7 separate regions of the Homo sapiens genome follow, and all the other regions are linked to region 1. Evidence: promoter capture Hi-C in 16 types of primary human blood cells and fetal thymus (Javierre and others, 2016). All regions are on one chromosome and are shown on one strand. Each heading gives the region's core, a stretch centred on a gene start or on the middle of the fragment in contact. The rest is flanking DNA. Distances are from core to core; before and after follow the strand shown.

Region 1 (3,340 bases), core at 345-2,844:
TATTTGTAGAGTTCTAAGCGTTCTTAAAATTCATTTTGCCCAACTCCTTCCTTTCCTAAAGGAGACAACAGAAGCTGCAGAAATAGCCTCTCTGTTATTATTACATAGCAGCAGTCTCCTGTCTTTAAATATTTGAACTAAACACATTTTACATTTTAATGAATTTAATTTACAGTGTGATGTCCAGTATTGGGATTGCATACTATTTCTTAAAACTTCTTAGAACTGTTAGCTCTAATATATCAAATTTCTTGTTGGGAGTAAGACTGCAAGTTAAAAAAAAAAATTAGAACCTTAGTTTGGAGGAACCTTAAAGGTCATGTCAACTGAAAAAATACGAAAGGAATGGTACTGAAAGGCATGAACATAACAGAGATTGAATGCTTTCTCCAGGTGGAGAGACTCCACAGTCTGGCAGGGACTTTTTGTCCTATTTAAAAATATAGCTAACACCAGTTTGGTGTTCTCTTTGGATGACAAGAGGGATCTGTCGTTTTAATGTCTTCTCTCGCAGCCCCCTCACCGCAGCCCCCTCACACCTGTGAGGCTTCTTTGACGTTGAGCGTGCACAACCCGCTGCCAGTCCGCGGTTCCCAAGTGCCCGCGCAGCCAGCTTGCAGGGGAGTTGTGCGCGGTGGCTACAGCCTGTTGATCCCACTTCCTCCTGCTCTAGTCCGGGCTAGGGAGTGGCTCTGCCAGGACTTCCAAGGCTTTTTGTCTCGGGTACTGGTGTTCGCATGGCTCGAGTGTATTGTTTTCTTCCAGGCAATCTCGGTTAGCGCTTCAGCTTAGACACTTCTTGTGCGTTCTGTCGTCTTGGGCTGCGTGTAGTCTCTTGTTTCTGCGCTTTCTCCACGCCCTTCCCAGTTTCCTGTTAGCCGAAGGGGATCGCTCTTTCTGAACGAAAAGTTCTCAGAGCGGAGCTGAACCTCCCGGAAAATGCTCTTCTCTTCCGTGTGCGCCGGATGGGGGTGGGGGTGGGCCAGAAACTGAACGCCGCCGTCAGGAGAGCTGAGGGGACCCGACGGCCCTGGCGGAGGCGGGAGAGGTACGGTCCTCGGAGTGGGGCTGGGGGTGGGGAAACCGACGAGGGGCAGCCCCCGACTGTCTTGGTGGCAGAGGGGACTTTTATTCAGCTGGAACCGCGCGGCGAGGCCCAAGTGTCTCTGGAGAGATTCGGGGTTCAGGAGGTGGCGGGTGCACCCAAGGGTGCTGGGAGGAAGCTCCAGGTTCCCATTCTTCCCCAGGGATCGGCGTTGCCCCTGCTGTCCAGAAGTGAGAGGGGGTGTGCGGGCATCGCCACTACGGGGTGGGCTGCAGAGGTTTCCTGCCTCCCCCACCCTCCTGTCCATCCTAGGGACCCAGACCGTAAGGGAGTGGAAGAGATGTTGCTCCAAACCCTGTCACCCCATCCTCTCTACCCGCGCTGGTCCTATCCGAGGCTGGGTGCGCAGGGGTCCGAGGCGGGCGGGGGTCCGTTACCTCTGCGTCCCACCGTGGCCGCCGCTCCGGCGGGAACCGAGCGGAGGAGCCGGGTGGACCCCTGCCTGGAGGGCGCCTGCCCCGGGCGACCCTTACCTCGCGGGGGTAGCTAGGGAAACGGAAGATGGCGGCGGCGGCCGGGCACGGGGTTCCGGGCTCCGCTCGGGCAGAGCCCACCCGCTGACCAACGCCGCCGCCCCCGCCGGGCGGTGCTGTGTCCCCGCAGGAGTCGGAGAGGATGGCAGGGGCCGGAGGCCAGCACCACCCTCCGGGCGCCGCTGGAGGAGCGGCCGCCGGAGCCGGCGCCGCGGTCACCTCCGCCGCTGCCTCGGCGGGGCCGGGAGAGGATTCGTCTGACAGCGAAGCGGAGCAAGAGGGACCCCAGAAACTGATCCGCAAAGTGTCTACCTCGGGGCAGATCCGGACCAAGGTAGGGCGGAGGAGGCGGGCCTGAGGGCCGCGTGGAAAGCGGGAGGTGGAGAGGGCGCGGGGGCGCTGGAACGCGCCGGGCGATCCCGGGAAGGCGGGGAAGGCGGGGAAGGCGGGGAAGGCGGGGAAGGCGGGGAAGGCGGGGAAGGCGGGGAAGGCGGGGAAGGCGGGGATGGTGAGACGGTGAGGCGGGGCGGGGCCTGGGGCGCGGGCGGGGCGGGGAGGGGTGGGGCGGGGCCCGGGGGCGCTGGACCGCGGTGCTGCGGGACGGATTCCCGGCGGCTGCGCGGGAGGCTGCGAGCCTGGGCTCCCAGGGAGTTCGACTGGCAGAGGCGGGTGCAGGGAACCCGCGGCTCGGCGGGAGCGTGGGAAAAAGCTGACGCGCAGTCGCGAGTTCCTACTTAGGGAACTTAAAAGGAGAGTTTCAATTTTTCTTCCCTGCCGTTCGGGGGAGCGTGCGCATGTGCTGGCCAACCAGCCTGCGCTGCAGTGAGCCCTGCTGCTTTCCCACTTAGGCCCACTCAGAGGGTGGGTGGAAGGTGACACCGGTCAGCCTTTCCTGCCCCTCTGCCTCCTGCTGCGGTCTGGAAGGCAGAAGCCCCGAGGCAGGCAAGTGGGACATGGTGTTCGCGGCTTAACCGCACCCTGCATGGCTCCAAGGGCTGGCCAGGCTTTCGTGTCGCAGGTTCCCGCCAAGTGCAGGCAGGGTTCAGAACCATGCGTCCATGGTTCTTTTTAATAATGAGAAGTTACCTCTGTGCTGTGTGGACATTAGGATGGTGTGTTACTCTTGTTAATGAAGCTTGTGCTGTCGACCTGTGAGGTCTCAAAGTTAATTTTTAATTTGATCATGAACATACCAAAGCAAATGCTTATGGATATTAAAGGATTTTTATGTATTCTAATTTTCATTGTAATTTAAAAATCTTCACAGAGAGAGTCTGTTATCAGTAGGGAAATTTAACGAGGATATTGAAAACGGAACCACAAAATCATTGGCTTGGGGTACCGTTTTTAAAAATAAATTTGCAAAAAATTCATTCTACAGTTATTTTTATGAAAAATTTTCCCTAAGGTCAATGAACTCCTATTTGGAAACATAATTTTTATTCAGTGCCTGTGGAGGCCGGTAACGGTGGCTCATGCCTGTAATCCCAGCACTTTGGGAGGCCAAGGCAGGCAGATCACTTGAGGCCAGGAGTTCCAGACCAGCCTGGCCAACATGGTGAAACCCCATGTCTATTAAAAATAAAAAAATTAGCTGGGCTTTGAGGCGTGCACCTGAGATCCCAGCTCCTCGGGAGGCTGAGGCAGGAGAATCGTTTGAACCCGGGAGGCGGAGGTTGTGGCGAGCAGAGATTGTGCCACTGCACTCCAGCCTGAGCGACAAAAAAAAAGCTAGTGGATTAATGTTTGTAGTAGCCTGCCT
Region 2 (3,340 bases), core at 627-3,126, 850 kb before region 1:
TTGAAGACACATGCTTCCTGAAAGTCACTACGTTTAAGAGAAGCACAGTTCAGCCACATATTGTGGCTAGGATCATAGCAAAGCATGCGCTTACTGTTGACAGCATAAAGATAGTTCTGAACCACTATGAGTTCAAAGGAATAGAAGGAATGAGGGACAGGAGCCACCAATGCCCACTGGTTTCTCTGAACACTGTAGCATTCCACTTCCTTCAACTTAACTCCAGTAATAGGGTCTCGTCCCCCCAAAATGTAGATGTAGCCATTGAGATATGCCACATCCATGCCCTCACGACACAGCAAGCGATCTGCAAGTTGCTGCCAACTATTCTGAGCTGGTTTATACACCCAGAGGTCTTTCCTGGGCTGAGCAGCTAGATAGATGTCATGGTCTGGGGACACACAGACAGCTGAGGAGGTGACAGTCTTAGTGTGAGCAAAGCTGGTCAAAGGGGATGGCATTGTGTAAATGTCCCCCGAGTAAGGGTCATAGCAGAGAAAGGGATCTCTAGGATGTCCAAAGAAGATCACCATCTCCTTGGCACACATACCCAGTCTCTGGGGTGGATTTTCTGCTGCAGATACAAGAGAGTTGCTGCTGCTACTGCTGCTGCTGCTGTTTGGCACTGGCACCAGAGACTTGTACAACAGGTCACCATAGCGCATCTGCAGGGCCCCTTCAATAACGTCCAGGCAGTACTTCTTCACGATGGGCTTGGTCAGCAGCCCTTCTAAGTAGTCCTGATCTTCTTCAGTGAAGTGCATCCAGCGCACGCACTTGAAGACTTCTGCAGCACTGGGACCCCGCTCTTTGGCAGCAGCCTCCAGCCACTGCACAGCTACATGGCATACAGTCCGCTCACTCTCTATGTCCAGACTATCCAGGCGTAGGACAGCCAGCAGCTGGGCCAGGGTTAGATCTGCTAGAGTCTCCTCCCGAATTGAACCCATTCGGCTGAGCTGCTTGAAGTTGTGAGCTATGTAGGACTGGGCCTGAGATCGAAGCTTGTGATGGTCGAAGGCGTCTGCAAACTTGAGGATGGCGGTGCAGTTGGTCAGGTCAAGACGTCGGGCTAAGAAGGAGGCACAGGCTTCCCGCACATATTCCAGCTGTAGCATGTCGGAGGCCGCGTACAGGCGCTGCACATTGGCCTCACTGAGAGACACACGACCCGTGTAGCAGTAGTCGACCAACACCTCGAAGGACTCGGCGTCCACATCGTGCATGGTCACGCTGGCCTGCTGGCTCTCGTACATGCCACCTGTGAACATGCTCTTGAAGTAGGGACACGCAGCTGCTAGCACGTTGCGATTGCAGGAAAAGAGGCGACCCGTGCCAGGCCCGCTGCCAGGCGTCACCACCTCGATGGTCACATCACACAGCAGCCGCGCGTCGTAGAAGGACTTGAGCTGTGCCAGCAGGGCTGCAGAATGGGCCGTGTCCTTTAACTCCTCTGGACCCGTGAAAAAGGCCGAAACCGAGGGCTTGGAAATCCTCTTGGGCCGCCTCCCACCACGGGGACTGGCGAGGCGGCGAGAGCGCGGGACGTCTTCCCGGGACTGCATGGTGGAGATGGCGACGGGCGCTGACGGCGAGAAAGGCTGCAGGACCAGGCTCTGGCTCCTCCTCAACCTTCCCTCGCTGACGCTAAGACAAGCCGCGTCCTGGAACAGACTGCGGCACGGGCCGCACTTCTGAATTCAGCCCTATCCCGCGGTGAGGCCTCCCTTTATTGCATAGACAGTGGCTGACTCACCCTCTCTCACTCCCGCGCCCTTTCTCCGCCTCCGCTCGCCCTCACAGGACCCGCTGGCTTGCAGCCGCGGAAGCCCCCACTGCCGCGCTGGCGATCCCGCTAGGCGCCCGGGAGAACTACTGCTCCCAGGTTGCCTTTCGCGCCCCGAGGCCTGCTGGGGCTCTCGGACGGCCGGGCGGGGACAGAGGGAAAGAAACCGCTTTGCATGTTGGGAGTAGTAGTTTGTGTAATATCGCGAGCTGTCCTTTAGTTGACTGCTCTAACAGTAGAAATTAATTCTCCTGGATTTGATGGTGAAGAGACTGTTGCCCAGGCTGGTCTTGAACTCCTGAGGGCTCAAATTATCCTCCTGCCTCGGCCTCTCAATGTGCTGGGATTACAGGCGTGAGCCACCGCCCCCTGCCAGTATTTCATAGGGTTTTGTGTGGTTCAATGATACCTTACATGGGATACTTAGATACATGTATGTTTTTGGTTAGAAGAATAGTAAAGCGTTACCCCGTGCCTAGAATGTAGCCAATAACTGTTAGATTCTCTTTTATAATTTATGATAAATGAGGCACCCACTAATTTGAAACCGAGTATTATTTTAAACCGCAAAATTTTACAAAGAATTTCTAGTTTTTAATGTTTATTCCTTCGAAAGATTTTGAAGGGCATTAACAATATTTTCAATATTAAATGATATCTATTGGTCTCGTTTAATAAGGATGTCTTAGACGACTAGGTTGAGGTCCTAAAGAACAGTATTAATAGATGGTCTCAAATACGCAAATCCAGCATATAAAAATAAATTATTTGCTGCTCTCACTAACATTTCATCTCTGGAGAGCAGGAGTATTTTCGTTAAGCTCCAAATATGAGTGTTTTCAAGTCGTCTAATACAGCCTCTTTCACTGCCGTTCCACAAATCAATTAACAGATTATGTAATTCCCTTTATTAAGGAGTTTTAGGGAGTATTTTAACTCAAAATATTTCAACAAACAGACTTTGTTCTGTACAAAAGCACATGATTCTCAGAATTCAACATCAGTACATGCCCTGACATTCCTTGAATTAATATATAGTATAGTCTATGCTTTACAAAGTCTTTTATATTTGCATTGGGATCAACAGTTAAATCATCAAAATCAAGTATTAGAGATTTGAGGCAGGAAAATAGGGTCTGGAGGCAGGGAACATAAGGCTGATTCACACTTTAGCTATAACAGGAAAGATCCTCTCCATAGGGTGTATGCTGAGTAAATGAGTTTGTAACTTTACTTCATTCTCTTCATTTACATAGGGTGTACACCAAGTAACCAGTGGAATCCTCTAGAGGGTATTTAAACCTTCAGAAATTCTGTAACAGGGCCCTTGAGCCCCTATGCTCAGGCCCGCTCCCCACTGTGGAGTGTACTTTCATTTTCAGTAAATCTCTGCTTTTGTTGTTTCATTGTTTCCTTGCTTTGTTTATGTGTTTTGTCCAATTTTTTGTCCAAAACGCCAAGAACCTGGACACCCTCCACCAGTAACAGACTTTTTCAGATAACTTTTATTACAAAACCATGACTGCTCCTGCTGCTAGTTTGTTATGTTACCAT
Region 3 (3,340 bases), core at 276-2,775, 790 kb before region 1:
AATGTTGAATCATAGGTTAGTTCATTAAACTTTTCTCTCAACTTCTGTATAAAAATTTTCGAAAATTTTCATAAGAGAAAAAATGTAGAGGCAATAGCAGTATTGAGAAATACTAAAATAAAAAACTAAGATAAAAAATAGCCGGTAGTCCCAGCTACTCAGAAGGCTGAGGCAGGAGGATTGTTTGAGCCCCGGAGTTTGAGTGAGGGACCATCTCTTAAAAAAAAAAACAAAAAAAAAAAACATAAAAAATAAATACACCATATACAAAAATAACTAAAATAGATCAAAGACCTAAATGCATGGGATAAAAATAAAAAATACGTCAGTCTTGTAAGAAAACACAGATGTAAACCTTTGTGCCCTTAGATTAGGCAATTTTCTTAGATACGACTCCCAAAACTCAAGCAACAAGAGAAAAAAAGATAAATTGGACATCATCAAAATTTAAAAATATCATGCTTCAAAAGACAGTATCAAAAAAGTGAAGAGAAAACCACAGAATGGGAAATTTTTGCAAATCATATATCTGATCATGGACTTTTACCTAGAAGATAAAGACCACTCACAACTCAATAATGAAAAGACAATTAAATTTAAAAACTGGCAAAGGATCTGAACAGTGATTTCTCCCAAGATGATACACAAATGGCCAAATAAGCACCAGAAAAGATGCTCAACATCATTAATCTTCAGGAAAATGCAAATCAAAACCACAATAACACACCACTTCACATTCATAGGATGGCAATAATTGAAAGGGCGGATAATAAGTGTTGGCAAGTACGTGGAGAAATATGAACCCTCATACACTGTGTGTAGAGCTGTAAAATCGTTATAGTCACTTTGGAAAACAGTCTAGCACTTCCTCAAAAGGTTAAACATAGAGTTACCACATGAACCAGCAATCTATGTCCACAAAACAACTTGTACACAAAAGTTCACAGTATCGTTATTTATAATAACCAAAAAGTGGAAACAACTCAATGTTCATCAACTGATGAATGGATAAATAAAATGTGGTATATCCATACAATGGAATATAATTCAGTAATGAAAAGAAATAAAGTACTGGCTGGGCATGGTGGCTCATGCCTGTAATCCCAGCACATTGGGAGGCCAAGGTGGGTGGATCACTTGAGATCAGGAGTTTGAGACCAGCCTGGCCAACATGGTGAAACCCCGTCTCTACTGAAATACAAAAAAAATTAGCTGGGCATGGTGGCAGGGGCCTGTAGTCCCAGCTACTTGGGAGGCTGAGGCAGGAGAATGGCGTGAACCCGGGAGGCGGAGCTTGCAGTGAGCCGAGATCCCGCCACTGCACTCCAGCCTGGGCGACAGAGCGAGACTCCGTCTCAAAAAAAAAAAAAAAAAAAACATAAAAATAAAAAATAAAAGCTTCCTTCCTGGTTCCACTAATGCGCAGTCCCCTCCAGGAAGATTTACCCAATCAATCCAGGCTGGTTTGAGTGCCCTCTCCTCTTTGCTCCCATGAAACTGTGCCTCCCTCTAGTAGAGCAGGTCTCACATTATAAACAATACTTAAATAAGTTTCTCTCACTGGACCATAGAAGCCCACTGATGGGGTAGGAACTGTATGTGTAGCCCTAGTATGTAGGTACAGTGTTCAATAAAGGTCTGCTCAATAAAATAAAGCTTCTGAAAAGACCAACATTTTGTCTCCCAGACCTTGAGACCACGGGAAGTACCACGAGGAGCCTGTTTACTTAGTACATTGATCTTTAGTAGCTAAAGTGTGTCAAATACTCTGGGTACAGAGTCCTGTTCTTTCCAAGTGTTGAGCTTATTACTTGTAGGTTTTTTTAAAAGACTGAGTTCAGGCCAGCCTCAGTGGCTCGGTGGCTATAATCATATCGCTTTGGAAAGCCCTGGCACAATAGTCCTAGCTACTCAGGATGCTGAAGTGGGGGGCCAGGACTTACAGGTTACAGTGAGCTACGATTGAGTCACTGCACTCCTGCCTGGGCAACAAGTGAGAACCTGCTTCTGTGGGAAAAAAAAAACAAAGACTAAGTTCAATAAAGCTTTAACTTAGAAAATCAAATCTGTACTTACACACACGCATATAAGTGTGTGGTTTTTTTTTTCATAGCCCTTATGCAGGACACATAAGTATCTTTTACCTACTTTTACACATTGATTCTAATTCTTCAATTGCTTGTTCAGTCTCCTGAATTTCTTGGTAAATGGCTGCAAGAGGTGCCAACTCAGCATGCCTTCTGTTCAAGGACCTTCGGTTTTCCTCATTCACAGGGATATGCTGCAGACATTGCTCAAGTGTTTGGTACTCCTTACTCAGGTTCTCCATATATTTCTGTAGTGCTTTATGCTTCCAGAGCATCTTGGTGTCTTGATGGCAATATCTCCTGGACCAATTCTTACTTAACAGATGAAGAATGCAATTCCTGTTTTGTCTAAAAACTTGCAGCCTTGTATCAAGATGTATCTGTCTAAATTGATGAGAATGGAGCTGGATGTGACACTGGAGGTAACCATTAAGAGATGGATGTCTAAAAAGCCAAACACACAGGTGACGATTCATCTCAGCATCTGAAATACAATAAACACAGTCTTTAAAAAAAAATCATCTCTAAAGATACATGCATAATAAACCTGGAAGGAACATCAAGAAATCTTGTTTCATCTACTGCCTCAGCCAGCTCCACAGTCTTAAAATTCAACTGCCGGCTGGCAGCAGTGGCTCACGCCAGTAATCCCAGCACTTTGGGAGGCTGAGGCAGGCGGATCACCTGAGGGCAGGAGTTCGAGACCAGCCCAGCCAACATAGTGAAACACTGTCTCTACTAAAAATACAAAAATTATCCGGGCGTGGTGGCAGGCGCCTGTAATCCCAGCTACTCAGGAGTCTGAGGCAGGAGAATTGCCTGAACCCAGGAGGCAGAGGTTGCAGTGAGCCGAGATCATGCCATTGCACTCCAGCAAGGGGGACAATACCAAGACTTCGTCTCAAAAAAAAAAAAAATTCAGCTGCCTACAGAAAGAACATAATTCTTCAAATGTATGAATAACATATTAAAATAAATAAAAACAGCACTGCTTCCTACCTGTTCAACATATATAATTAACTGAAGCATATGAGTAGGAGTACAACTAACAAATATATCAATTGAATGAGTTAAGTCAGTTATTTTCTAGAAAGTATCTAGAATCTAGAATTGAGTGTGTAAACAAGCTCTTGAAAGCTATGAAAACATACAAACTTAAGGCGGTTCATAAAGTCATTTTCTAAAGTTTGAAGAAAATATTATTATCTTGTATAATTCTTTAACTTTAAGGATCTAGATATCCAAGGAAGTCA
Region 4 (3,340 bases), core at 615-3,114, 730 kb before region 1:
TTTGCTTTGAACTTAGTAGGCTGTATTTATGGAGCAGTTTCTTATTTGTTTAGCCATGGCAATGCAGCAGTATGTAAAATAGGCTAAGGCCGGCGCAGTGGCTCATGCCTGTAATCCCAGCACTTTGGGAGGCTGAGGTGGGAGCTAGGATCACTTGAGCCCAGGAGCAAAAGACCAACATAGTGAGACTTCATCTCTACCAAAAATAAAAAAATAAAAAAAAATTTAGCCAGGCATGATGGCACACACCTGTAGTCCTTCCTATCCACTCAGGAGGCTAAGGTGGGAAGATCACTTGAGCTCAGCAGTTTGAGGTTATGGTGATTGTGTCACTGCACACCAGCTTGGGCAACAGAGTGAGACTGTCTCTAAAAAATAAATAAGAAAGATAGGTGAGATCATTGTTCTAAGGATCCATTATATGATGGTGGGGAAGACAGACACTAAATAATAGCATAAATAAGATTTCAGGAAATGATAGCACTGTGTGGAAAATAGAGTAACATGGTAGAGAATATGTTGGGGAAGGAAGGAGGATGGGAGTATTTGATAAAGTGGGCAAGTAGGGGACATGTGAGACTTGGATAATGAGGAACCATCCATGGGAAGATCTAGGAAAGCAATTCAGGCAGAAGGAACACAAGTGTAGGAGGCCTGAGGTGGGGATAAGCTTGGCATGTTGAGTAATTTAACACCCAGTGTGACTGAACAATGTAAGCCAGGGAAGAGTGGAAAGCAATGGGGTGTTCTTCGCATCAGTGGCTGCCAGGGAGAGATGTTAATTGTGTACCCTGGCTGGTGGCATTCGGAAATAAAGATGTTGCTTATCCTTGCATTGGACTAATGATGGTCTTTGGAGTAAGATCAGAGTTTGCAGCTAAGCTGAGCAGCTTATAAACAAGTTTTTGAACCTCTGGAGTTTCAGTTTCCACATCTCTGAAGTGGAAGTAATGACACCTACATTAAAGAATTGGTATTAAGTAAGAGATTACAAATTTTTTACAGACATATCATAGCTGCTCAATAAGTGGTAGTATTTGTGTGTGTGTGTGTATGCGTGCACACACCCATGCACTTTGGTTTCATTCTTGCGGTAGCAAAGGCTTTTAGTGCAGTTTCTGGTATTTTTCTGTTGCCACATATGTTTTTGCTTAAATTTTTTTTTTGAGATGGTGTCTTGCTCTACTGCCCAGGCTGAGTGCAGTGGCACAGTCATGCCTTACTGCAGCCTCAGCCTCGTGGGCTCAAGTGATCCTCCCACCTCAGCCTCCCAAGCAGTTAGGACCACAGATGTGCACCACCACGCCTGAGGAATTTTTAATTTTTTTGTAGAGATGAGATCTTGCTTTATTCCCCAGGCTGGTCTTGAACTTCTGGGCTCAAGCAGTCCTCTCGCCTTGGCCTCCCAAAGCATTGGAATTATTTTGAATTAAAAAATTCTGTGTACTAGGAAAGGGAAACAAAATAAAAAATTCTGTGGCAGTATTGATTGGTGAATTGTCATTTTTTTCTGTTTGTTTGTTTTGAGACAGGGTCTCATTCAGTCGCCCAGGCTGGAGTGCAGTGGCATGATCTCGGCTCACTGCAGCTTCCAGCTCCTGGGTTCAGGTGATTCTCCTGCCTCAGCCACCCAAGTAGCTGGGATTACAGGCATGCGCCACCACGTCTGGCTAATTTTTGTAATTTTTTTTTTTTTTTTTTTGAGACAGAGTCTCGCTCTGTTTCCCAGGCTGGAGTGCAGTGGTGTGATCTCTGCTCACTGCAACCTCTGCCTCCTGCGTTCAAGCGATTCTCCTGCCTAAGCCTCCTGAGTAGCTGGGATTACAGGCACGCACCACCACACCCAGCTAATTTTTGTATTTTTAGTAGAGACGGTTTCACCATGTTGGCCAGGTTGGTCTCGAACTCCTGAGCTCAAGCGATCCGCCCACCTTTGCCTCCCAAAGTGCTGGAATTACAAGCGTGAGCCACCTTGCTGAGCCACATTTCCTGTTTTTTAAATGTCTTTTTTCATGGTCTTTTATAAAAATGAAAATATGTAGATTTTAGAACAATTTGACAAGAATAGGTAACAAAAGTACACTGCATGTTTGTAAGTGATATCCTTTCTATCACATTTTAGACCTAATTTTGGATCTTGAGTTTAGAATATATGATGCTGTGAGAAGTTGCTCCATTATGTATTCATTTGATAAAATAACTTTTGTTCATATTTCTTTACAGAAATGTTATGAACAGAAGCAGTACAAAAATGGCCTCAAGTTTTGCAAGATGATTCTGTCGAACCCAAAATTTGCTGAACATGGAGGTATTGTCTCATGTGAGAGATTGCTTTAGGGAAATCAAATTCTAAAACCAGGCATTAACAGTGAAAGAAGAGTATTTCCCCGATTCCAGGGCCTTGCAGTTCTCTATTAGAGTGCATAAATGTTCAGCATTTTTTTAATGCTTTATATGAGTCTTCTAGATTACCTGTATTATCCTTAAGTATGTATACTTAAGGATAAGATTAGGATGGTTCGTTTATCTATTGGGGAAAAAATTGGAGAAAGTATGTATCAGTATTTTTATGGACCTGATTTCCTTTATTACTTTGAATAGAATTTAAAGTTTATACCTTGGTTTCCTGTGTGTAAAATTAGGACAAAATTTGCAATATAGAAGTATGAAGATATGGTCACCTGCACTTTATTCTTTGGTAGATGTGTTTTGTTTTGTTTTTTTTTAGTATGTGCTGACGTTTACATATGATATTACTAATTTACCATTAGATTGTATATTTTGAGTTGTTTTCTAACACTGGTGTTAATAAAGTTTGTATTTTCTGGTTGTGTCCTTTTTCAGTAACAGCCAGTGTTAGAAGGGTGGATCAGGATAGACATGAAAATAATGATCCTGTAGCATAGCAAAGCTGGTTGAGATTACTCAGTATCAGACTTGGATAATGGTTGAGATCATCTTATTGGGAAAATAGGCTGACCTTGCTCACTTTTCCAACAACATTTAAAAGATTCTTTGAAGGAAATGGAAAGAAATCTTCATTTCATAGAATTAATTTTAAAGCTTGTTTTCAAGCTTTTTAGCTGTGGAAGCTTTATCCAAATGGTGCCTGTGGGAAAGTTCAATATGTAAAACAGATAAAAGGTGTTGGAGCGGGGTTTGGGCCACAGGATCACCATGTTCTGAATACCATAGAGTTTGAAAATCATTCTTCTTGTGTAATTCCCTTCTTGTGGATAATTCAGAGAATTATTTCATCCTAAACCATCTTTTATTAACTTCCTTACATGTTTTTTGTTGCCACTACCATCATCCAGTGTTGTGCTGTTGAAATGTGAAC
Region 5 (3,340 bases), core at 236-2,735, 690 kb before region 1:
CTGGGCTTAACCTTGTTTTAACATGAGGAAACATACTTGAGAGGTTGAATGGCTTGCCTAAGACCATGTAGTTAGTTTATATTGGAACCTGTTTTTCCTGAATCCCTAAATTCTCTGCTTTTTCTACCCTCTTATTACTTTTAATCCTCTTTAGTTTGGTCCTTTGTTTCTATATTTGTAGGAGCATATATAAATCAAGGCAAGTTACTTTAGAAAACACTAGAATGTTTTCAGTCATGCACAAAGTAACTTCCGGGTTCCTTATGTGTCTCTTACATGTCATTACTCTGAGTATTTTTCTGATGTTTTTTAAGAGAGGGGATCTCACTGTGTTGCGCAAGCTGAACTTCTGGGCTCAAGTGATCCTCCCACCTCAGCCTGCTGAGTGGCAAGGACTACAGGCGTGTGCCACCATGCCTAGCTGATTTTGTGTGCGTGTGTGTGTGTGTGCATACGCGCGCACACGCGGGGGTTTGGGGGAGGTTTCTAGAGGTGGGATTTTGCCATGTTGTCCAGGCTGATCTTGAACTCCTGAGCTCTAGCAATCTGCCTGTCTCAGCCTCCGAAAGTGCTGGGATTACAGGTGTGAGCTGCCACACCCTCTATGAGTTTTTTTAAGGCACATTCCAGACTTACTGTTTCATCTGTAAATATCTTAGTGTGCATCTCTATTTAAAACACGTAAACAGAAGAAGTCATCGCAGTGCCATGTCACACAAAACCTCATAACATAATATCTGATACCCAATCTTAGTGTGCATCTCTATTTAAAACACGTAAACAGAAGAAGTCATCGCAGTGCCATGTCACACAAAACCTCATAACATAATATCTGATACCCAGTCCGCATTCACATTTCCCCCATTATCCAAAAGAAGTCTTTGTGTTTGGTTTATTTGAGTATAGATCCAGTTAAGGTTCACACCAAATAATTGGTTGTTATATCTCCATAAGTTGATGGTTATGTCTCATTATTTTAATCTAGAACAATAACTCTCCCCTCCCTTTCAAAAAAACAGTCATTTGTTGAAAGGTCATTTGTCTTACATATCCCATATTCTAGATTTGGTTGATTGCCTTTCTCATGGTATCATTTGCTGTATTTCACTGTCATTCATACTTGTAAGTTATAGTTAGGTTTACTTGCTGGATTAGATTCAGGTTCTGTTTAAATACGGGTGGTGCTTTGTGCTTCCTGTTGTGTCATGTCAGGAAGCTTGAGACATTCTGGTTTTCTCTCTTTTTTGATGTTAAGATTGATAAAGATTCAGATGTTGTCAGCCTGTTATACTCATTAAAAAGGTCCATGACGGCGTGGGGGCACGGTGGCTCCACACCTGTGATCCCAACACTTTTGGGGATGCTGAGGCAGAAAGATCTCTTGAAGCCAGGATTTGGAGGCCAGCCTGGGCAACAAAGTGAGACCCTGTCCCTACAAAAAATTAAAATATTAGCCACGTTCGGTGGTTCTCACCTGTAGTCCCAGCTACTTGTGAAGCTGAGGCATGAGGATCACTGGAGCCTAGGAGTTCCAGGCTACAGTTAGTTATGATCATGCCACTGCACTCCAGTGTTGGTGATAGAACAAGACAAAAATTCCTCATTGGCCTCTCAGCAATTGAAGATCATTGCCTAGATCCCTTGTTGATTCTAATAATTTCTGCATTCGTTAGCTGGAATTTTTCTTATAAAGAACTTTCCTTCATCAAATACTTGGTTCCCTTGAAATATAGTTTATATAAGAGGAACAGAGTAGAAGCTTAACTCATTGCCTTTATTTTATTATTTGTGTTTTAATGTGTGCTATAGTATGTTTGCATGTCATTTGATCAGCTATGCTAGGAAACCTGTTTGTTTTGATGTAGTGTGGGTATATTCACTCTTTCCTCCTCATTTTTACACAAGTATGTCTTCCCTTCTGAAATCCATTTTGAGAGCTTGATATTTCTTTTCTGCTCCTCTGTAGTTAGAGGGTACAGGATGGGGAACAGGATAGAACTCAGGTAAGTGTATATATGTGACTGCTTTTTTAAGAGGACTGGGCTGTGTTTTTTCTACTTAGGTTTTTGTCAGATGGTAGGGTTGTTTCTACTTTGTCAGGTGTATCTTCTTCCTATAGGTCATAGTCTTCAACTTTGGGTATCCCTGATTTAGTATTGAGGCCTGGAAAATGGTAAGCCATGGCAGTTTGGCAGTTCTTGCCTCTGCTGAAATCTTGCAGTGGTAGTTAGGAAATCTCTTTGCCAAGTTTTTTTCCTTGACTTTTCCTGGTCTTGCTGCCCTTTTGCTTTCAGGCTGAGAGTTCACAGAATTAGTTTGACGTATATCTTTTCCCCAGCATTGTTTCTTTGGAGTGAGATTGGGGTTAGAAGCCTGTCAAAGTACAATCTTATTTCTCTACATGGCTGCCACTTTTTGAACTTTATGAAGTCATACCTCTTTCTTTTGAAATTAGTAGTTTTTGCTGAGTCTTTCTTGCTTATTATTATTGCAATAGTCATTTCATTATGAATTAGGAGAGAGAAAATATGTGATTTGCTTTACATTCTTTCTATAATAATTTAATATTTGTTTGATTGCAGAGAATGGGGAGAAGGAACCCCCGACAACACTACTCTGGGTTCAGTATTTCCTGGCACAGCACTTTGATAAACTTGGACAGTATTCTTTGGCTTTGGATTATATTAATGCTGCAATTGCTAGTACTCCAACTCTAATAGAATTATTCTATATGAAAGCAAAAATTTACAAGGTAAAATCTGAATCCTGTTTTTTGAGTAGTTGAAGAATTCAGCTACTTTAAGAATCCTTGGAGTTTTTTCTTTGTGGAAACAAGTTCTAGGGCACCCTGATAATCTTTTTCTAATAATCCTGTGTAGTTTCATGTTATATTAATTGTATAATCAATGTGTAATTAGATGTGTAATCATTTGAGCTCTTAGTAAATGTGAACTGTAATTTTGATTTCTAAATAAATTTGACAGAAATGGTGACAGATTTCTTTTTTGTCTGTGTAAATTATTTTCCATTTTATTGTACTCATATTCTCTTGATTATAAATTGTGGTTCCTTTAATTATCTTTTATAGCATATAGGTAATCTCAAAGAAGCTGCAAAGTGGATGGATGAAGCACAGTCTTTGGACACAGCTGATAGATTCATCAATTCCAAATGTGCAAAATACATGCTTCGAGCAAATATGATAAAAGAAGCAGAGGAAATGTGCTCCAAGTTCACAAGGGTAGGAAATAGCATGCATGAGCATGTAATTGTCTAAATTAAGACAGTTTGTGAAGTTTGTCTAAATTAAGACAGTTTGTGAAGAACTTCAGTGGAAGTT
Region 6 (3,340 bases), core at 326-2,825, 670 kb before region 1:
TAGCATAAATGAAACTTTAACCCATTGAACAACTCCCCACTTCCCCCACTCCCAACCCCTGGCAACCATTGTATTCTCTGCTTCTATGAGCTTGACTATTACAGATAACATCATGTAAGTGGAATTATGTAGAATTTGTCCTGTGACTGGCTTATTTCACTTAGAATAATGTCCTCCATATTCATCCATGTTGGCATAAATGGCAGGATTTCACTCTTTTAAGGCTGATATTCCATTGATATATATGCCACATATTCTTCATTTATCTGTTGATGCACACTTGGGTTGTTTCCATATCTACTATCGCAGTGTGTCTTTTTTTTCTGTGATGGAGTCTTGCTCTGTCGCCCAGGCTGGAGTGCAGTGGCACGATCTCAGCTCACTGCAAGCTCCACCTCCAAGGTTCACGCCATTCTCCTGCCTCAGCCTCCCGAGTAGCTGGGACTACAGGCACCCACCACCACGCCTGGCTAATTTTTTTGTATTTTTTAGCAGAGATGGGGTTTCACCGTGTTAGCCAGGATGGTCTCGATCTCCTGACCTCATGATCCTCCCTCCTGGGCCTCCCAAAGTGCTGGGCTTACAGGCATGAGCCACCACGCCCGGCCTGCAGTGTGTCTTTTTAAGTTCCTTAATAGGCAGTAGAATGAAAACATTTGGACAGTAAATTTAAGTAACTAAGAAGCTTAGTATAAGAATTACAACGGATTTCAGTGCCTCCTGGCTCCTGTTCTCTGAGAGGATAGTCATGAGATCTGAGTTTTTCTATTGAGGATAGTCTCATTAATAGATTTGGTTAACAGCTTGTTAAAGAAAATTACTTTAATCCCTGATGGTAGGAAAAGCCGACTAGCCCTTTCTTCTTTCCCAGAATGTGTAGATGTTAGTTCTAGAACACAGGTGTCTGTTAATATTTTAGCAGCACTTTGTGACTTTACATCTTTAGGATAGCCATTGTGATAAGTGAAAGTTCTTTATCTTAAAGTAGCTAAAGTGGCTTCATAGCCCCTGAACGGGATCATATATTGGCTTCGGCTCAATCCCAGCCTCTGGGAGCCTGTGAACCTACGGCCATATGATCAACCTACCCTGTAGCTTATTCAGGACTACTCCCCTATCCCTTATCCTCCACCCCCTACTCCTAATCCACCAGGGATCTGTAGGGACTCATACTTCTGGCAGACCTGTGACCATCTCTGAGTTCCACTCAAGGCGTAAGCGCTCTCTGGTTCTCTTTCCTCTCCCATCCTCTCATCCCCATCTGTTGTTTTCTCTTCCTTAGGTCAGCCCCTCTCTATACTCTTTCCTTGTGTTCTTTGCAATTTACCCTCTAAAAATATTCAACTGCATGGCTTTGCCAGATGCAAATTCTTAATCTTCCTTGTACTAAATCTACGTTTTCACAGTTCCATACATCTTCTTTCTCTGCCTTCACCATTTCCGCTTATCTTTTAATTTTAACTGAAAATCGTAACGGATCTCTATCCATTATGCAGCCCTTTCAAGTGGAGACTGTTTATTCTCTCACCATCTCCCTGGAAAGAGCATTCAGAGCATTTCACTCTCCACCATTTCTAGCCCATCACTCTTCCAACATTGTACAAACAAATCCATGCTCCTTTGAGGATAATGCTATTGGGCTGTACTCTTGACATCTCTTTGTTGCTGTCATTTATACACTTCTCTGACTCACAGACTTTCCCTTCTCTCCAATCGTGCTGAAATTCCAGGTGGTTTCAGCATCTATTTGGTGCACCCACTCAACACTCTGGCCTCTCAGTTTCTTGATCTCCCTGGTATCAATACTTTTCATCTCCATCTGTTTTAGTCTGTTTTCTGTTGCTGTAATGGAATACCACAGACTGGGTAATTGATAAGGAAATTATAACCTCACTTCCCATTTAAACAAAAAATAGAAGCCATCAGATACAAATTCTTAATCTTCCCTGTACTAAATCTATAAACTTATTTCTGATTGCAGAATTTTTTCCTCCTTTCATCTTGTCACATTTTTCTTCCCCAAAAGGGTAATTTTCCCTGTGTTCTGAATTTCTTTCCCTCAGGTCTTAGGGTACTTACTTGGCTTGATCACATCCTGTACCATTTGTCTCTGCCTCTCTACTGGTTTCTTTCCATGAGCATTTTAAGCATGTTCAGAAAGGGCATCGTTTTGCAGTTTGTTTTCAAATCTTGCAAGGACATATGTGGGCTAGCAGTTGCCTGCTATTTGGGTGCCCTGTGATGACCACTTATTTAGCTTGATTGTAAGTTCTGTAAGGTCTCCAACCATGTCTGTCTTGAGTATAAATCACAGAGCTCAGCGCAAAATAAATATTCATAAATGTCATTGATGAACACTCACAGTCACTAAGTATTTTCTCTGATCTCTGATTTGCCTTCACCACTGCCCTGTGAAAGAGGTCATATTATCATCCCCATTTTCCATGACAGTCAGCTGATAGGATGTAAGCTTCTCTCAGGGCCACAGTTTCTTAGTACAAAGCAGGATCCAAACCCACTCCTTCTAATTTTGAATTGAGTGTTCCTTCCTCTCTGTCAGATGCTCAGTAATCATGCCGTGTCTTACTCATTTTCCTGGCCTTGTGTGTGTTTAAAGTCTTGTTTCCTCGACAAGAGGTTCTCTTTTTTTTTTTTTTCAATTCCCATTTATTTTTGGCTCTTGGGGCGATGTCATCTTTTCAGTATGAAAAAAAGCAGCAAGTTCAACACAAAATAGAAATCTCAAATGTAGGATAGAACAAAACCAAGTGTGTGGGGGGGGGGAAGCAACAGCAAAAGGAAGAAATGAGATGTTGTGAAAAAGATGGAGGAGGGTTCCCCTCTCCTCTGAGGATTGACTCAAACACTGATGTGGCAGTATACACCATTCCACAGTCAGGGATGTTCCTTCTTTTTAGGGGGTAAGAAAAAGTGGGGATTAAGAGGACATTTCTGGAGGCTTAGGGACCAAGGCTGGACTCTTTCCCCCACTCCTTGATCCCTTTCTCTGATCAGGGGAAAGGAGCTCGAGTGAGGGAGGTAGAGTTGGAAAGGAAAGGATTCCACTTGACAGAGTGGGACAGACACCTCCAAAGAGTAGAGCTTAGAGGGAGATTGAAAGTGGAGATAATACTGCTGACACCTCTCTTGAAGCTGAGATGGGAAATGGACATACTTAGAAATTAGTGACTTTAATAGCCTGGATTTCCCTCTCCAAAACTTTTAGAATGGAAAATCCCATCCCCTTCCTTATATAGTGACTTCTACCCACTGCCTTCTACCATCTTCTACTTTGGGCTTAGGATGGTGGCCATTATCTACATGGGTTTTCAGCACCTGG
Region 7 (3,340 bases), core at 322-2,821, 640 kb before region 1:
ACATACTACAAGCGGCTTCTGCTTGTATCCAGACTAGTGTCTGGGCAAGGTGGAAAGCAGTGGTGCCTGAAAGCTTGCAGAGCCCCAAAGAGAGTGTTATAGCACGTCACAGCCCTTGCTTGGGAGCCCCAAGTTCTGGGCTCCTTCCACCTCTGCCCACCTGACATAGTGTATTCTGAGTTTTGTGGTTTTATTCCTTGCTGATTTAAAATATATTTCTAGCACACATATAGGCATGTCAATAACATAATGATTAATTTTAATTGCTTTTGACTTTTATAAAAAAGATTTTTTTAAAGTCAGTGTGGGCTGATATAACAAAGTACTGTAGACTGAGTGGCTTATAAACAATAGAAATTTATTTCTTACAGTTCTGGAGGCTGGAAGCCCAAGATCAGAGTGCCAGCCTGGTGGGGCCCTGGGGAGGACCCTCTTCTGAGTTGCAGATTGCCATCTTCCTGTTGTATCCTCAAAAGGTGAAAGGAGCACTATCTGGCTCTCAGGCCTCTTCTTATAAGGGCACTAATCCCATCCAAGAGGGCTCTACCTTCATGACCTGATTATCTCCCACAGGCCCACATTGGGATTAGGGTTTCAACATATGAATTCTTGGTGCAGCGGGGGAAGCACAAAAATTTAGTCCATTGCAGATATCATGCCATATATAATCTTCTGGGACTTTTTCCCCACTTATTTTTTTTTTTATTACGAAGTGTCATTCATATTGTTGTGGTTAGCTGTGATTCATTCATCTTCACTGCTACATAGTATTCCACAGTGTGAATATGCCATAATTTATTAATCTGGCCTTCTTGACTCCAGAGTGTAGGCTTTACCATGTGTTGCTGTAATCAACATCACTGTAGTGAACATTCTCATAAGGGGCTCTCTCTCCTTGTGCACACATGCCGGCGTCTTCCTTGGTTTCTACCAAAGAATGAAATGCTGGGTTAGTAGTAGGGTGTGTGAATGTCAACTTCACAAGATAATGCCAGACTGTTTTCCAAAGCGGTTGTAGCAATTTATACTCTTGCCAGCAATGTTTAAGCTATCTTATTCATCTATCCACTTTAGTATTTGGTGTTGCCAGACTTAATTTTTGCCAATCAAATGGATGTAAATTGGTGTCTTTTTATGGTCTTGATTTGCATTTCCAGAGTTATTTATGAGGACTTCAATAAATGGCACTGGAGAAACTTACTATCCATATGAAGAGTAAATTAGATTTCTATCTTACATCAGACATGCAAATCAACTCTGGATGGATTAACCATTCAAATATCAAAAGCAATTAAAACTTTCAGAAGGAAAAAGTGGTGAATATCTTTAGATCTTGAGGGTAGGGAAGGCTTTCTTAAACATTGGACACAAAAAAAGCCCACTATAGAATGGAAGTGTGATGAATTTCATTACATAACAATTAAAAACTTGTGTTCATCAACAACGTGTTAAATAAGGTCAAAAGATAAGCTACAAACAGAGAGGATGTATCACATTTAACAAAAATTCTATATCAAAATAATTCTAAGAACTCCTATAAATCAATAAGAAGAGAACACAACTCAACAGGAAAATACACAAAATACATAAATTGGTATTTCACAGAATAAACACATAAGGCCAATACTTATATGATGAGACACTTAATTTCATCATTTTAAAAAGCATCTTTTGAGGAAAAACAGGATATTTTATGGTCTTCTTATTCCAGGTTAAGGGAAAATAAGCATCTAGGAAAAAAAATTCAACCAGCATTCATCCAATATTCCAGAAAAAGTAACTAAACCTAAAAGAAAGTAGAATATTTACCAATGTATTTTAAGTTTACTCTCTGATTTTGTTTATGTAATAACAAGAATTTTGTTATTGCACATTGTCAACACTCAACAATAATTAATTGATTGATTCACAGTGCCTGATTTTCTATAAGCCTAACTTTGATTTCTTTCAAACTGGAAACAGATGGGTACATGCTTTTAAGGTGTTAATACACTATAGAACATGATCTTCTTTCTCTGAACTCTGTGCCCTGTTGGCTATAAGAGTAAAGCATTCACTTGGAGGAAGAAATCAGATTTAATCTAAAAGGCATGGTATAGCTATGCAGAGCCCAGACCCTTGTGGTTGAAACAAAGTGCTTAGTCGGCATTGCTCAGGCAAATCAGAGCAACAAGGGGATAGGAATGCCCCCAGGTCACTGCACACACTGATCTCCGAATAAACTGAATGAGCTTTTATGAAACAAGTCTCCCCATAAATATGTGCAAATATTATGTATCAATTAAAAAAGTTAAAAAAACAAACACCAGGTACCACATTGTAAGGTGCCCTTACAGAGCACTGGTTTAATAAAGGTGACATTTCAGAGAGTATTCACTTCTTTTTGTATCAGATTGGTAAAATGTGAGCTCAGCATTTTATTTATATTCAGGAAATAATGTTAATATTTTACTGAAAATATTAATATTTCTAAAGATTGATCAGTACAAAAGCGTCCACACAAAATTCATCAACATGGTAAGATTGCCTTATGTTTTCTGCAGACAGCTATAACATAATTTGGTATAATCTTTCTGTAGGTAATGTGAAAATACACACTCAAAGACTTAGAATTTCATATATTTCTCTGACCCAGCAATTTAATATCTATAAATTTATTCTAAGGAAACAATCATAGATGAGTCTAAAAATATAGCTCTTAGAATATTTATCAGAGTGTATCTACGATAGTGAAAAAGTAAAAATCTAAATGTTAAAAAGTGGGGAGCTGATTAAATTGCAGTTTATCCACATACCTATTAAAATGATGAGAAATAATATTTAAAGACATGGAAACTGATCATATGGTTACAGGTTATAAACAGTATATAAAATACAACTCTGTTTAAAATACATGCACCAATCTATGCCTAAAGAAAACATTGAAAATATATGTACCCAATAGAAAAGACAGCACAAATGATTAGAAGGTCCACAGGAAGGAGTAGCAGAGATGGCAAGCATAGGAGTGAAGAAACAAAAACAAAAACAAAAAAGTGGGGAGAATACTGGTTTGAGGAATGAAAAATGTAAGCTTGAATGAACTCTCAAAGAAGAAAAGCAGATTACGTCTAGAATATAAAAAGCAACCTATGCAGAAGCTCTGTTAATATCACACTCAAATTGAAAGGCTTGGCTGCCCTTAAGAGCATATTTAGTGAGAGTGAAGAACATCTGAAAACTATGTGTTAGGTCTAGGGTTCAACACATCTGGCTACTATGTGCCCGGCGCTGCAGCGCCTCTGTAATCCTCTCCATAACCGTAGGATAAGTGAAGCTGGGAAAGGCCAGGTGGGCAAGG

What was found. The method cuts DNA at HindIII sites, captures the fragments that hold promoters and counts their contacts. A CHiCAGO score of 5 or more calls a contact.
Region 2: a contact is called between the fragment with the promoter of KBTBD7 here and the fragment with the promoter of DGKH in region 1, in 2 of 17 cell types (monocytes and non-activated CD4 T cells). The highest score is 5.6, in monocytes.
Region 3: a contact is called between a fragment that was not itself captured here and the fragment with the promoter of DGKH in region 1, in 2 of 17 cell types (naive CD8 T cells and total B cells). The highest score is 6.1, in naive CD8 T cells.
Region 4: a contact is called between a fragment that was not itself captured here and the fragment with the promoter of DGKH in region 1, in 1 of 17 cell types (fetal thymus). The highest score is 6.2, in fetal thymus.
Region 5: a fragment that was not itself captured here is called in contact with the fragment with the promoter of DGKH in region 1 in 5 of 17 cell types (fetal thymus, non-activated CD4 T cells, monocytes and 2 more); the score reaches 9.7 in fetal thymus.
Region 6: a contact is called between a fragment that was not itself captured here and the fragment with the promoter of DGKH in region 1, in 4 of 17 cell types (M1 macrophages, M2 macrophages, M0 macrophages and 1 more). The highest score is 9.8, in M1 macrophages.
Region 7: a contact is called between a fragment that was not itself captured here and the fragment with the promoter of DGKH in region 1, in 1 of 17 cell types (fetal thymus). The highest score is 7.0, in fetal thymus.

Annotation. Positions count from the first base shown.
Region 1 is chr13:42,047,054-42,050,393 of GRCh38, forward strand. It overlaps DGKH (diacylglycerol kinase eta), which reads left to right and starts at 1,595. Exons shown (of 30, transcript NM_178009.5): 1 at 1,595-1,912. The coding sequence starts at 1,721. RefSeq lists an enhancer at 742-831 and a silencer at 1,372-1,901. The HindIII fragment of the contact is 8,345 bases long and covers 1-2,711 here.
Region 2 is chr13:41,192,693-41,196,032 of GRCh38, forward strand. KBTBD7 (kelch repeat and BTB domain containing 7) reads right to left here and starts at 1,877. Exons shown (of 1, transcript NM_032138.7): 1 at 1-1,877. The coding sequence starts at 1,565. The region is part of intron 3 of KBTBD6-DT (KBTBD6 divergent transcript); the gene reads left to right. RefSeq lists enhancers at 619-1,326, 1,327-2,033, 1,378-1,647, 1,958-2,047. The HindIII fragment of the contact is 3,616 bases long and covers 1,003-3,340 here.
Region 3 is chr13:41,258,345-41,261,684 of GRCh38, forward strand. MTRF1 (mitochondrial translation release factor 1) reads right to left here. Exons shown (of 10, transcript NM_004294.4): 2 at 2,149-2,571. The coding sequence starts at 2,563. Among named protein-coding and RNA genes, the nearest start is that of MTRF1, 3.6 kb to the right of the region's middle. The HindIII fragment of the contact is 258 bases long and covers 1,397-1,654 here.
Region 4 is chr13:41,314,623-41,317,962 of GRCh38, forward strand. It overlaps NAA16 (N-alpha-acetyltransferase 16, NatA auxiliary subunit), which reads left to right. Exons shown (of 20, transcript NM_024561.5): 2 at 2,224-2,308. Among named protein-coding and RNA genes, the nearest start is that of NAA16, 5.0 kb to the left of the region's middle. The HindIII fragment of the contact is 2,393 bases long and covers 669-3,061 here.
Region 5 is chr13:41,355,722-41,359,061 of GRCh38, forward strand. NAA16 (N-alpha-acetyltransferase 16, NatA auxiliary subunit) reads left to right here. Exons shown (of 20, transcript NM_024561.5): 11 at 2,583-2,752; 12 at 3,089-3,241. Among named protein-coding and RNA genes, the nearest start is that of NAA16, 46 kb to the left of the region's middle. The HindIII fragment of the contact is 543 bases long and covers 1,215-1,757 here.
Region 6 is chr13:41,381,031-41,384,370 of GRCh38, forward strand. It overlaps the pseudogene TUBBP2. Among named protein-coding and RNA genes, the nearest start is that of NAA16, 71 kb to the left of the region's middle. The HindIII fragment of the contact is 1,785 bases long and covers 684-2,468 here.
Region 7 is chr13:41,403,415-41,406,754 of GRCh38, forward strand. No RefSeq gene overlaps it. Among named protein-coding and RNA genes, the nearest start is that of RGCC, 52 kb to the right of the region's middle. The HindIII fragment of the contact is 3,000 bases long and covers 72-3,071 here.